Regions from separate parts of the Homo sapiens genome. Here region 1 is linked to region 2. The links are contacts of gene promoters, found by promoter capture Hi-C in human tissues and cell types (Jung and others, 2019). All regions are on one chromosome and are shown on one strand. Each heading gives the region's core, a stretch centred on a gene start or on the middle of the fragment in contact. The rest is flanking DNA. Distances are from core to core; before and after follow the strand shown. Region 1 overlaps FOXK1 (forkhead box K1). Region 2 holds the start of WIPI2 (WD repeat domain, phosphoinositide interacting 2).

What was found. Contacts are between HindIII fragments. The study calls those that stand out against the background at their distance.
Region 1: a contact is called between a fragment that was not itself captured here and the fragment with the promoter of WIPI2 in region 2, in 1 of the 25 tissues and cell types used here (dorsolateral prefrontal cortex).

The regions. Positions count from the first base shown.
Region 1 is chr7:4,758,128-4,764,499 of GRCh38, reverse strand. FOXK1 (forkhead box K1) reads right to left here. Exons shown (of 9, transcript NM_001037165.2): 6 at 5,283-5,449; 7 at 4,905-5,189; 8 at 3,212-3,436; 9 at 1-2,316. The coding sequence ends at 2,036. Among named protein-coding and RNA genes, the nearest start is that of AP5Z1, 14 kb to the left of the region's middle. RefSeq lists an enhancer at 2,880-4,079. The HindIII fragment of the contact is 4,891 bases long and covers 1,681-6,372 here.
Region 2 is chr7:5,185,285-5,192,184 of GRCh38, reverse strand. It overlaps WIPI2 (WD repeat domain, phosphoinositide interacting 2), which reads right to left and starts at 1,952. Exons shown (of 13, transcript NM_015610.4): 1 at 1,692-1,952. The coding sequence starts at 1,765. RefSeq lists silencers at 1,458-1,507, 1,518-2,167, 4,841-4,970. The HindIII fragment of the contact is 24,553 bases long and covers 1-6,900 here.

The DNA.
Region 1 (6,372 bases), core at 2,877-5,376, 430 kb after region 2:
AGGCGACACAAGTGTGGAACGGGGCGCAATCTCTCACCCTCCACGGACGTAACTGCACCCAGGACAGCCGGCTGTGTTCATCCTGCCCCCGTTTCTCTGAAACCTCACCCAGGGCAACAGGTACGGACTTCCACAAAGAGCTTATTTCCCATGGAAAGGTTAGTGCCATAGAAACGACTCAATTCGGGGGGCTTAGAAAAACAACGGGACACGGGAAGGAAACCGAACAAGGGGTTTTCTCTATCTAGGTGGAAGGAGGGGGCCCACAGAGGTTCTGCACTTGTCCTGGGGGACGGGGACTCTGATGGGGGCCACGGGCGACCCCACTCCACTGCACAGCACGTGTGTCCTCCCGCACTGCCTCGGAATCACTTTGAAAAGTGTTCTCCCTTCTTCTTCAGGGAGACACCTGTCCAGCCACCTCCCTCAAATGCCCTCCAGGCACCTGGGTCCCTCTGCAGCTCTCCCGCCAGGGCCTGGGCAGAGGCTGCTTTGCTGGTGAGAGGCTGTGATGCGGAGGACGGGCGATTTCCAAGAACCACTGCTCCTCAGGCACTTCCGGAGCTCTGCGTCGAATCTGTCGCTGTTTCTCGTTGTGGTCCCGGACAGGAGAGCCAGCGCCGGAGCGGCCAGCAAAACTGACAGCTGACCTTTACGAGGACGCACTTCGCATCTCCAAGACACACTGAAGGACTCCTCTCTCCTTCCTGAGCTGGGCTCAGCATTAGACAGCTCTGGCTCAACGCTGCTTGGTGACAAAGATCCAGGAACCACTGGCTGTCTTAATGGAAGTGCAGGAGGGGGCTTCCTCAGGGACCCCAGAACCACCCAACTGGCTGGAGCATCCCGTCCTCCGGTTCTCACCGTGTGGCAAACAAAACCAGTCGCGTTGGCGGGGGCTGGGCGTGGAGGCACAGGCCTGCTCACCACTGCTGCTGGGGTGGGGTCTCCTGCTCACGGACAGCCCAGGGAGGGGCCCTGGAGTTTCAGGCAGGAGAAATGGTTCCAATTGAAAACAGCAGATCAATGTGGGAGTGGTGAGGACTCTGCAACTGGGTGAAAAAGCAGCTGGAGCAGATGGCGTTTGGCACTGTTAGGTCCCCATGTGGCCGTCAGCACCGGGACATCGGAGCCACGGATAATTCGGGAAGGTCTGGTCTGCAGAGCAGCGGCCCCAATCGTCCCCAGCAGCGCGATGTCTGCGGCCGGCGGATCCAGGCTCACCTTTCATCCTAGGAACCTTCCACCGCGAACGCCAACCCAGGAAGCCGCTGCTCTTACTTGAAGTTATCAGACAGAGCGGCAGGTTTACTCTTCGAGGGGATTAAACCCAGCGGGAACCCTGGACCTACGGCCGGTCATCAGACGTCAACAGGTAAAATCCTCAAAAATACATGATCCCTTTTGTGTCTGTCTCAGGTGTACAATGAAGTCTGAATTCCATGTTTAAACAAACAAAGAAAAACTTGGGGTCTGAAGTGAAATCGGACACCCCCCGAGTTAATGCCAACACTCTCTATGTCACGTTCCGGGCGGAGAGGCTGTTAGGTGGTCCGTGGCTCGGCAGCTCCTGGCTTCCCAACAGGCATCTGTCCGGTGCCCGGGCCTCCCCGGCAGCCTTGGTGTGTGCCTTGCTGCGTTTCTGTCTGTCCTCCCGGACAAAGGCGGCTGGCCGTGCAGCGCGGAGCGGAGGGGCTGTCTTGACACATTCCTCAAGATGCTGAGCTCCAACCTCCTCCCCATGCCCGACAGGGAGGCCTGGGGAGAGGAGGTGGTGCCGAGGGAGAAGGAAAGGAAAGCAAAGAATTCCCAGAATCATACAATCAGTTGTCTGAACTTGTTTATGTGTTTTTGTCTTAAACCACGGGAAGGCAGGCGATCAAATGGAAAGGGCTGGGTGTGTCCAGGTGCCGCCGATGCCCACAGGCCGCCGCGGGCTGTTCTCCTCCGTCTGTGGGTGCGGCCGCCTGAGCTGCCGGGTCCAGCTTCGGGGTCGCCGCTGGGTGAGTCCCACTCCCCCGCGTTGCAGGTGACCTCACTCCCCGGTGCCTGGCCCCTGGGGGCCGGCAGCTGCGATCACTCCAGCCGGTGTGGTTACAGCACCACTGGGCTCCTCCACCCGGGACCTTTTGACCTCGGGCTCTCCAGTGGAAGAGGCGGAGGCAGAGGCGGTGGTGGCAGTGGCTGGGGTGGTGGTGGCCGTGGCCGCGACGGCTGCTGCTGGCTCCTTGGGCCCCACCTCGCACACCCGGGTGACCACCACCGGCGCGGATGAACTCGCTTGGGTCGCAAGGAGCTGCAAAGGGCTGGTGAGGGCTGGAGTGGAGGAAGAAGAGGGTTACTCTGGGGTCTGGTTAGGACCCAGCTGCTTTTTTCAAGTCCCCTATACAGGGGCTAAGCCACCAAGCCGGAACCGGAGGTCAGTGCACCCCTGCCAGGCAGGACGGCTACCCTTGCTCTGCTCCCTGCGGGCCCTGCCGTCCCCTCCCCACCTCATCTGCCCTGTCTCTGCTGGCTCCAGCCTGTTGGGTGGAGGCCCCTCTCATTGCTGTCTAGATCCTGCTGGACATCGACGGCTTGCCTCACTCCTTTACACAGATGCACTGCCCTGAGCCACCCCACTGACAATGCGCCCGGTGCCCTGGTACCCTGCACCCCCGCCCAGCACCCTTGCACCCCAGCACCCCAACTCTCCTCCTTCCTTTGACCTCTTGCCTCACCCCATGGAGTGTGAGCTCCAGAGAGTGGGCAGATCTGGGTTTTCCTTCCACCCTGTTTTCTTTCCCCCCACTTTTTTTTTAAAGGGACAGGGTCTCGCTCAGTCACCCAGGCTGGCAGGTAGCGGAGCAATCACAGCTGACTACAGCCTCACTCTCCCAAGCAGCTGGGACCATGAGCGTGCAACACCACACCTGGCTAAGTTTTTGAATCTTATGTAGAGATGGGGTCTTGCTATGTTGCCCGGGCTGGTCTCGAACTCCTGAGCTCAAGCGATCTGCCTGCCTTGGCCTCCCAAGGTGCTGGGATGATAGGTGGCCCCTTCCACCCTCTTTTTCTTTGCATTACCCCAGTGCCTGGAGTATAGCAGGTGCTCAATAAATTGAACTGAGTGGAGGATCGGGAGATACTGGGAGAACATTCTCATGCCGCACTGACTACTGGGAGCCACAGAGCTTGGGATGTGGCATGGAGAACAGGGCCAGGGCCTCACCGTAAGCGTTGCCGGCTAAACTGTTCGTGGGAACCGCATGCTTTCCGTTCTGGGTCACGGCCCGGACTGGAAGGTGGTGCTGCCCGAGGGTCACGGGTGTGGCGGGCTGCAGGATGGTGACCGTGTGTCCGGGGACCCCGGGGGCCATCTGGCTGGCCACCGTCTGGATGACTCCACCAGCCGCGGGGATTGTGGCAAACGCAATGGTGGGTTTCTCCTCCAGGCCTGCGGGACAGGAACCAAGTCAGCACCACACTCGGCCAACGAGACAATCGATTTCCTCGACGCCTGGGCAGCAGGTCGGACAAGTGGGGAAAGTGAGGTCGGCACTGGGAAAAAATAGGTTTGCTAGAGGAAAATCCCATGGGTGAAATAGGTTTGGGAAGAAAATTACTAGGGTTTTAGAACAATATTTTACTTACTTATTTATTTTTTGAGACAGAATTTTGTTGCTCTGTCGCCCAGGCTGGAGTGCAGGGGTGCCATCTCGGCTCACTGCAACCTCCGCCTCCCGGGTTCAAGCGATTCTCCTGCCTCAGCCTCCTGAGTAGCTGGGACTACAGGCGCCTGCCACCACACCCGGCTAATTTTTGTATTTTCAGTAGAGATGGGGTTTCACCATGTTGGCCAGGCTGGTCTTGAACTTCTGACCTCAAGTGATCTGCCTGCCTCAGCCTCCCAAAGTGCTGGGATTACAGGCGTGAGCCACCGCGCCCGGCCTAGAACAGTATTTTAAATACCTTAGCTTTAACCAACCCAAATTTAGTCTGAGAAAGAAAACGTATTACTTGGAATGAAATGATCCTGATTACAGCTGTAACTTGGCCTTCCCTCACCAAACTGCAGTTTCATTACGGCAGCATTGAAACAAACACCACCGCGGAGAGGAAGTCCAGGGTGGAGAGTGGCCTAGGAGGGCGCTGCCTAACTGCAGGCGTTCCGGAGAGGAGCTTCTGGGGTCAGCTGCATGTTCAGTGTCTACCCCGTCAAGCCCTGGGATCGGATTTCTTTTAGCAATTCAGAACTACTTTTTCCCTAAATGACTTCTAAAGTCTTTAACTTACGAGGGAGTCGAAAAGAACAGTCTTCCCAGGCTCATTCTTTCTCCTGCAGAAAACACTAAATTCCAAATGCATGCAAGGCCGCAACACAACTCAATTTAACGTTACCTTAGGGCAAGGACACAGCTATGTGCATCCGAGGGCCCTGTTCAACAAGGAAGGACACATCTGCGGAGATTCATGGGTTTTTTTTTTTTTGAGACAGGGTTTTGCTCTGTCGCCCAGGCTGGAGTGCAGTGGCGCAGTCTAGCTCACTGCAACCTCTGCCTCCAGGCTTCAAGCGATTCTCCTCCCTCAGCCTCCTGAGTAGCTGGGACTACAGGAGCGCATCATCATGCCTGGCTAATTTTTGTATTTTCAGTAGAGACGGGGTTTCAGTATGTTGGCCAGGCTGACCTCGAACTCCGGACCTCAAGTAATCCACCCGCTTTGGCCTCCCAAAGCACTGGGATTATAAGCATGAGCCACCTGCCCAGCTCATGCTGATTTAAAGGGACAAGGCAGCGAGAGGCAGAAGCAGAGAATCATCCTCCTCAAGCCCCAGGCCCAGGCCAATGGCGCTGCCTTGGGGACTTGCCGGCCGGGACCACCACAAAGGGTCCTGCGAAGGCTGCCAGCCGCGGCTGCATTACCTCTGGCCTCGCTGCCCAGGTCCAGCACGGCTGCGCCCGCCGCATCATGGGAGCCCCCCGCCGCGCCCTGGCTGGTGAGGATGTATCCGTTGGCCGAGTTGGCAGATGTGGTGACCACCCTGACCATGGTGACGGTGGGGGCCTGCTGCACGACGTGGATGGCGTGGCCCGCGGGCTGCTGTGAGGTTACGATGGAGGCGGGCATGTAGGCCACGGGCTTGGCCACGAGGCTGGACGGTCGGGGAGGCACGGCCATGATCACTGGCTGGGCGCTGACGGGGGAGCCTGCACGGAGGGCGGAGAGCGGACGGTGACCCCTCCCGCACCCCCACGAGTCCCGCCCCGCCCCGCCCCGCAAGAGGGCCGCCCGCTCCTTACCGGGTGCGCTTTGGGAATACCGGTACTCTGGGACAGAAGCTAACTTGGACCCAAACTCAGGGTCGTGTGGAATGGGGGAGCCCTCCCGAGACAGGCACTCTGGGGTCTGCAGGCCGCCGGAGCGAGGGGACATCAGCCCGGGGTGTGTGGGCGAAGCTGGAGCGCTCCTGGAAGACAGGCAAGGGCCGCGGCAGTCAGCGCCCGCGCTGAGGGATGCGAGGACGTTTCCGAGACATCACGCATCTCAGCGCCGTCACCCGCCCACGCTCCCTGGAGCTCGTCTCTGTCCTCCGCATTCAGACGGTGAGAAACGCCCCCGTAACCTGAACCCAGCCTTTAAAACTCCATTTGAGTGGGGGCTGCATGGGGGAGGCTCCGTTCCATGAGAGGGGACGGTATCATGTGAGGTGCTGCAGTGAACGCAACAACCTACGGAGTTCACTTCCACCGAGGTCCAGCCAGGTGTCCATGAAAATGGCCCAGGCCTTCTGTGCCAAAAACATAAGCTTCTGTTTGGTGGGCGCAACCGTTCCACCATGAAAACTCTACCCGAGAGGGGTGTTTGAACGTCATTTGGAGCTCAGTTTAAATGCTGCAAATGACGTTCGAACACTTTTTTGAAGTCCTACCTCAACCATACGCCCAGTTCACCTGAGAATCACAATGCCAGACCCTGTGCTCGAAATGAATTTTCAGATATTTCAATCTTTCATCAAATCGTGTTGGAAACAGAATTTTGAAATGGGAAGCACGAGAGGTTAACGTGTCCTTCCACGGGGAAGGATTTCCGAGACTGCCGCTCAGGAGATCTCCTCCTCGACACCTGGGACGGGCTCATCTGATGGGCAACCTGGGAAGCGCTGCCCAGACCGCTCACAGGCGGTGCATGCTCCTCCAGACTGGGCTTGGCCAAGACTGAGCTGGGCAGGGGAGGCCCTGACGCAGCAGGTGGGCAGCAATGGCTGGGGGAGGGTCTGTCCACCCCGCCGGCAGCAGAGCTGCGTTCCCAGCATCTGCGAAAAGCAAAGGCGGTTGTGGGCTCCCCAGGTCATACCCCTCATCTGTCCCTTCGAAGATTGGGCTCTCCCCG
Region 2 (6,900 bases), core at 703-3,202:
TGTTTGTTGTTCTGGCTTTTGGTCACACAGAACGCTACAGTACTTGGGAGTTTTCATCTTTACACGTTGTTATGCTATTATTTCTAAATTCACTGTCTTCAGAATTCTACTCTGTAAACAGAAAAAAAAACAGCATGGCAGAGCAGAAAGAACATTGGAAGAGAGCTCAGGAGGCGAGATTCCACTCCTGCCCCCGCTCCACTATTAACCAATTCCAAAACCCAGACCAGCTTGGAGCCTTTCGGAAGGATTTCCTCATCTGTAGTTGGATGAGGTGATTTGCCCCTTCCGACTCTCAATACAGTCCCACTGTGCGACTGTCTTCACAGCTTTGGGGAGGTGCTATTGAGTGCCTGCTGTACACCACCCACTGAGTGTTGTCCATTCTACAATTCACTTTTAATTTCCTAAAGAATCTTACCTTCTGCTATGTTAATTCCACTCAGCCAGTAACAACTCAACCAATGACTTAGTAAGATGCCAAATGCCCCACTCCTTCTCTTTCCTCACTTCCTCTTACTCACTTCCAAGATGGCTCTCCTCCCTGCCAACCCCATAACTCACCCTTCTCTCTCCAGAAAGCTCGCTCATCTATTAACCATCCCCACAAGTCCTCCTCCCAGGCAGCATCCAACCCGTATCAGTGGGGACAAACAGCGTTCCGAATGCACGGGCTGGCATTAAGGCCTTCTCTTGCCCTGAGGATGACCCACCCGCTGGAGCTCTGAGACTCCTGGGGCACTGGTCCGTAACGCCTCTCTTGGCTCAGTTTCTCCCTAGCTAGGTCAGATGCCAAGGTTATTGCTAAGTTTGTTACTTGCTGGAGAAGACATCAAAGTTGATGTCCCAAAAAGAACAGGGAGGGCCGCGCACGGTGGCTCACACCTGTAATCCCAGCACTTTGGGAGGCTGAGGTGGGCGGATCACTTGAGGTCAGGAATTTGAGACCAGCCTGACCAACATGGTGAAACCCTGTCTCTACTACAAATACAAAAAAGTTAGCTGGGCACAGTGGCGCGTGCCTGTAGTCTCAGCTACTCGGGAGGCTGAGGCAGGAGAATCGCTTGAACCCAGGAGGCGGAGGTTGCAGTGAGCTGAGATGGCACCACTGCACTCCAGCCTGGGCAACAGAGCAAGACTCTGTCTCAAAACAAAACAAACCCCAAAAAACAAAAACAAACAAAAAAACAGTGAGAAACGAAGAAAAGAAAATCAAGAGAGAGAGAAGGGTCTTAAGACGATGAAAAGACAAGGAGAAGGGCCTGATTCAAAGGAGAGTGAGTGGGAGACGCTGAGCAAGCAGCGGGAAGAGGAGACGAGAGGAGAGGAAGCGACCCACACCCAGCGCTCCACAGGCGGCCAAGACAAGTCAAGCCCCAAAGTTCGGCCCCAACTTTGCGAGAAGTAGTTAAGTCTGAAGCCAGGGGGCCTCCCCGCAAGAGGGTGAAAGCAGCCCCCTCTCCACCACCTCTCCCGCTCCGGGACCGCAGCTCCAGGCCAGCACCCGAGGGTCTCCCTGGAGGGCGCCCCTCCCTGCACGCCCCGGGCCCGCCCCTGGGGACGCCTCTGCGCGCCTTGGCCCGCGGGGAGGCCGAGCCTGCGACGCCGCCGAGCTTGGCAGCGAGGCCCTCCCCCTAGCCCGGGTCCGACCCTGGCCTCACCCCGACTCCGACCCCCGACCCCGGCCTTACGTGTTGTCCTGGTTGAAGTTGGCGAAGAGCAGCTGGCCGGCGCCGGCCTCCCCGCTCTGGCTCGCCAGGTTCATGGCTGGGCGCGCGGCGAGTGGGCCCGGCCGGGGAGGGCGCGCGCGCGAGGGCGGGTCAGGCTGCACTCAGGGTCGGCGCCGGGCCCCGCTCGCCGCCTCGGTCGCCGCCACTCGCCACCCTGGGATCAACCGCCGCCTCATCCCGTCCCCGCTCTTGTTTATGCTCCAGAGCCGGGGCACCCGGTACGCCTGCGCGGCCCCGCCCCCGCGACGCACGGCCTCGAGCGGCGCAGTCGCACTGCGGAGGCCCCGCCCTCTCACCGCCTGCCTGGGCTTGGGTTCCGGTGGATCACGCAGGCGTGGGGACGCGTCGGGGCGCGCTGGGCCTGGCTGAGGGCGAGCGGCGGCCGCTCATGCGCATGGGGCAGAGCTGGCGGGAGTCTGTTTTCTGCGTACCCTCCTCTTAATAACACTCAATGGCCAGGCACGGTGGCCTGTAATCCCAGCATTTTGGGAGGCCAAGGCGGGCGGATCACCTAAGATCAGAAGTTCGAGACCAGCCTGGCCAACATGGTGAAACCCCGTCTCTACTAAAAATACAAGAAAAATTAGCCGGGCTTGGTGGTGTACGCCTGTAATCCCAGCTACTCGGGAGGCTGAGGCAAGATAATCGCTTGAACCCAGGAGGCGGAGATTGCAGTGAGCCGAGATCATGCCACTGCAATCCATCCAGCCTGGGCCATAGAGCGAGACTCTGTCTCAAACAACAACAAAAACAAAAACAAAAACACCCCAATGGGCCCTCCATGTGCCAATCACTGTGCTGAATGCTTCTGCGCATTACCTTATCATTTTATTATTTTGAAAGACAAGGTCTCGCTCTGTTGCCTAGGCTGGAGTGCAGAGGCTCAATCACAGCTCACTGCAGCCTCAAACTCAGGCTCAAGCGATCCTCCCACCTTAGCCTCCCAAGTAGCTGGGACCACAAATGCATGCCACCACACCCTGCTAACTTTTAAGTTTTTTGTAGAGATGGGGTGGGGGCGGGGGGGGTCTTACTCTGTTGCCTAGGCTGGTCTCGCACTCCTGGCCTCAAGTGATGCTCCCACCTCGGCCTCCCAAAGTACTGGGATTACAGATGTGAGCCACTGTGCCCAGCCACATTATCTTATTTGATGCCCATTACAATCCTAAGTAGAGAATAGTATATCTTAATTTTACAGATTTGAAAATCGAGGCTCAGAAATAATTATTAGCCAAGTGCTAGATCTGAGACTGGAAACGTCCTGTTTCTCCAAGGTCCATACTGTCTGGGTTCCTGGGACAGAATCGTCCCTTAAATTTATTCATTCATTCAACAGTATTTAGGACGCACCTCTCATGTGAACTAAATAGGCCTCCTCCTTTCCCTCAGAGAAGTTATAATGGGGAGATATTTAAATATAAATAGAAGGCCAGGTGTGGTGGCTCTTACCTGTAATCCCAGCACTTTGGGAGGCTGAGGCGGGTGGATCACCTGAGGTCGGGAGTTCCAGACCAGCCTGGCTAACATGGTGAAACCCCGTCTCTACTAAAAGTACAAAAGTTAGCTGGGTATGGTGGTGGGCACCTGTAATCTCAGCTACTAGGGAGGCTGAGGTGGGAGAATTGCTTGAGCCCCACAGGTGGAGGTTGCAGTGAGCCGAGATTGCACCTCTGCACTCCAGCCTGGACGGACGACAGAGTGAGACTCCATCTAAAAAGTAAAATAAAATAGGCTGGGCATGGTGACTCACGCCTGTAACCCCAGCACTTTGGGAGGCTGAGGCAGGTGGATCACCTGAGGTCATGAGTTTGAGACTAGCCTGCCCAACATGGTGAAACCCTGTCTCTAGGAAAAATGTAAAATATTAGCCAGTTGTGGTGGCACGGCCCTGTAATCCCAGCTACTCAGGAGACTGAGATGGGAGAATTGCTTGAACCCAGGAGGTGAAGGCTGCAGTGAGCCGAGATCATGCCACTGCACTCCAGCCTGGGCGACACAGTGAGACTCCATCTCAAAAAATAAAATAAATAAATATAATTAGAAACTCGGGGGTACAATGAGCGAATATATATATATATATATATATATATATATTTTTTTTTTTTTTTTTTTTTTTTTTGAGACGGAATTTCACCTTCTTGACCAGGCTGGAGTGCGATGGCGCAATCTCGGCTCACTGCAACGTCCACCTTCCGGGTTCAAGTGATTCTCCTGCCTCAGCCTCCCGAGTAGCTGGGATTACAGGTGTGCACCATCACGCCCAGTTAATTTTTGTATGTTTAGTGGAGACGGGATTTCTCCATGTTGGTCACGCTGGTCTCGAACTTCCGACCTCAGGTAATCTGCCTGCCTCGGCCTCCCAAAGTGCTGGGATTACAGGCATGAGCCACTGTGCCTGACCATGAATGCATATATAGAAGTCACACAACCTATATTTAAGGGACAGGGACTGTGCTATTGAGAAGGCTCCTGGAAGAGATGAGACCTGAAGTTTGAGTAACTAGTCTAAGGGCATGAAAACACTCTATATGGGAAGGGCTTGAGGATGAGGGTGTGACCTGTCCAAAGAACTCTATGTTCAGAGTGGAAAGGCAGACACAAGGCAAGATTTGGCAGGAGAGACAGGAGGTGGCCAGATCAAGCTGCGTATTGTTACGCAAGGAACTGACCATTATCTGATTATTGTCCATAAGAGCAATGGTCTGCCGTTAAAGACAGGCAGGAAAGTGGAACGATCTAATGAGTGCTTACAGAAGTTAATTCTAATTATAGGGTCAAGAACGCATTGGAAATCATTGAGGAAAGGATGGTCTTTTCAATAAAAGGAATAAGTACCCCTACCTCACACCATATTCAAAAATTAATTTGAGATGGATTACAGTCCTAGATGTGAGAGGTAAAAACAATAGAATTTCTAGAAGGAAACGAGAATGCCTTCATGATTTTGGGATAAACAAAGTAGTCTAAACAGGTACTTTAAAGCGGATGTGTTGGCTCATGCCTGTAATCCCAACACTTTGGGAGGCTGAGGCAGGCGGATTGCTTGAGTCCAGGAGTTTGAAACCAGACTAGGCAACATGGGGAAACCCGGTCTCTACAAAAATACAAAAATTAGCTGGGCGTGGTGGTGTGCGCCTGTGGTCCCAGCTCCTTCAGAGGCTAAGGCGGGAGGATGGCTTGAGCCTGGGAGTTCAAGCCTGCAGTGAGCTATGACCGCGCCACTACACTCCAGCCTGGGTGACAGAGCAAGATCCTGTCTCAAAACAAAACAAGTTCTTTAAAAAGTAGTAACCACAGGCCGGGCGCGGTGGCTCACGCCTGTAATCCAGCATGTTGGGAGGCCAAGACAGGCAGATCACGAGGTCAGGAGATCGAGACCATCCTGGCTGACATGGCGAAACCCCGTCTCTACTAAAAATACAAAAAATTAGCCGGGTGTGGTGGCTGGTGCCTGTGGTCCCAGCTACTCAAGAGGCTGAGGCAGGAGAATGGCGTGAACCCGGGAGGTGGAGGTTGCAGTGAGCTGAGATCGCACCACTGCACTCCAGCCTGGGTGACAGAGCGAGACTCTGTCTCAAAAGAAAAAAAGTAGTAACCACAAAATGAGAGATTGGCCTTCATCAACATTGAGAAGAATGGGCTATTTTCAAGAGACCATTAAGAGAGGAAGAAAAGGCAAGATTTAGAGATACATATATTTATTTTATATATATATATATATATATATATATATATATATATTTTTTTTTTTTTTTTTTTTTTTTTTTTTTTTGAGACGGAGTCTTGCTCTGTCACCAGGCTGGAGTGCAGTGGTGCGATCTCGGCTCACTGCAACCTCTGCTTCTAGGGTTCAAGCGATTCCCCTGCCTCAGCCTCCCAAGTAGCTGGGACTACAGGCGTGTGCCACCACACCAGGCTAATTTTTTGTGTTTTAGTAGAGATGAGGTTTCACTGTGTTGGCCAGGATGATCTCAATCTCCTGATCTCGTGATCTGCCCGCCTTGGCCTCCCAAAGTGCTGGGATTACAGGCATGAGCCACCACGCCCGGCCTGCAATATATATATTTTTGACAAAGGAATTATACCCAGAACTTCTGCGCATCAATAAGAAAAATATAGACAGCTTTTTTTTTTTTAACTGGGCAAAATACTTGAACACAAGCACTTCACAAAAGAGGATATCAGAATGTTAATGAGCACCTGAAAAGGTGGTCATCGTTAATACTCATTAAGAAAATGTAAATTAAGGCTGGGTGTGGTGGCTCACACCTGTAATCCCAGCACTTTGGGAGGCCAAGGTGGGAGGATCACCTGAGGTCAGGAGTTCGAGACCAGCCTGGCCAACACGGTGAAACCCTGTCTCTACTAAAAATACAAAAATGAGCTGGGCCTGGTGGTAGGCACCTATAGTCCTAGCTACTCGGGAGGCTGAGGCAGGAGAATCGCTTTAACCTGGGAGGCAGAGGTTGGAGTGAGCCGGGATCACACCACTGCACTCCAGCCTGGATGACAGAGCAAGACTCCATCTCAAAAAAACCAAACAAACAAACAAAAAAAGAAAATGCAAATTAAGGGCAAATGAGGTATTACTAAGCATCCACCAAATTGGCTAAAATTAAAGCAACTGACAATCCCAAGTGTGGATGACCATAGAGCGCAATTGGAACTCTCATACACTGTGGATGGAGTCTCGCTCTGTTGCCCAGGCTGGAGTGCAGTGGCACGATCTCGGCTCACTGCAAGATGAAAGTCTAAATTGTTTCAACCACTTTGGAAAACTTGGGCACTACCTACTAAAGTTTTGTTTTTGTTTTTTGTTTTTTTGTTTTTTAAATGGAGTTTTGCTCTTGTCGCCCAGGCTGGAGTGCAGTGGCACAATCTTGGCTCACTGTAACCTCAGCCTCCACCTCTTAGGTTCCAGCGATTCTCCTGTCTCAGCCACCCAAGTAGCTGGCATTACAGGCACCCACCACCACGCCCGGCTAATTTTGGTATTTTTAGTAGAGACGGGGTTTCACCTTGTTGGTCAGGCTGGTCTTGAATTCCTGACCTCAGGCCACCACGCACGGTCTATTTACTAAAATTAAACATATATATACCTTTTGACTCGGCCAAATGCACTGTATATGCATTTCTAGGTGCATATACAGTAGAATTAGTGCATATTTTC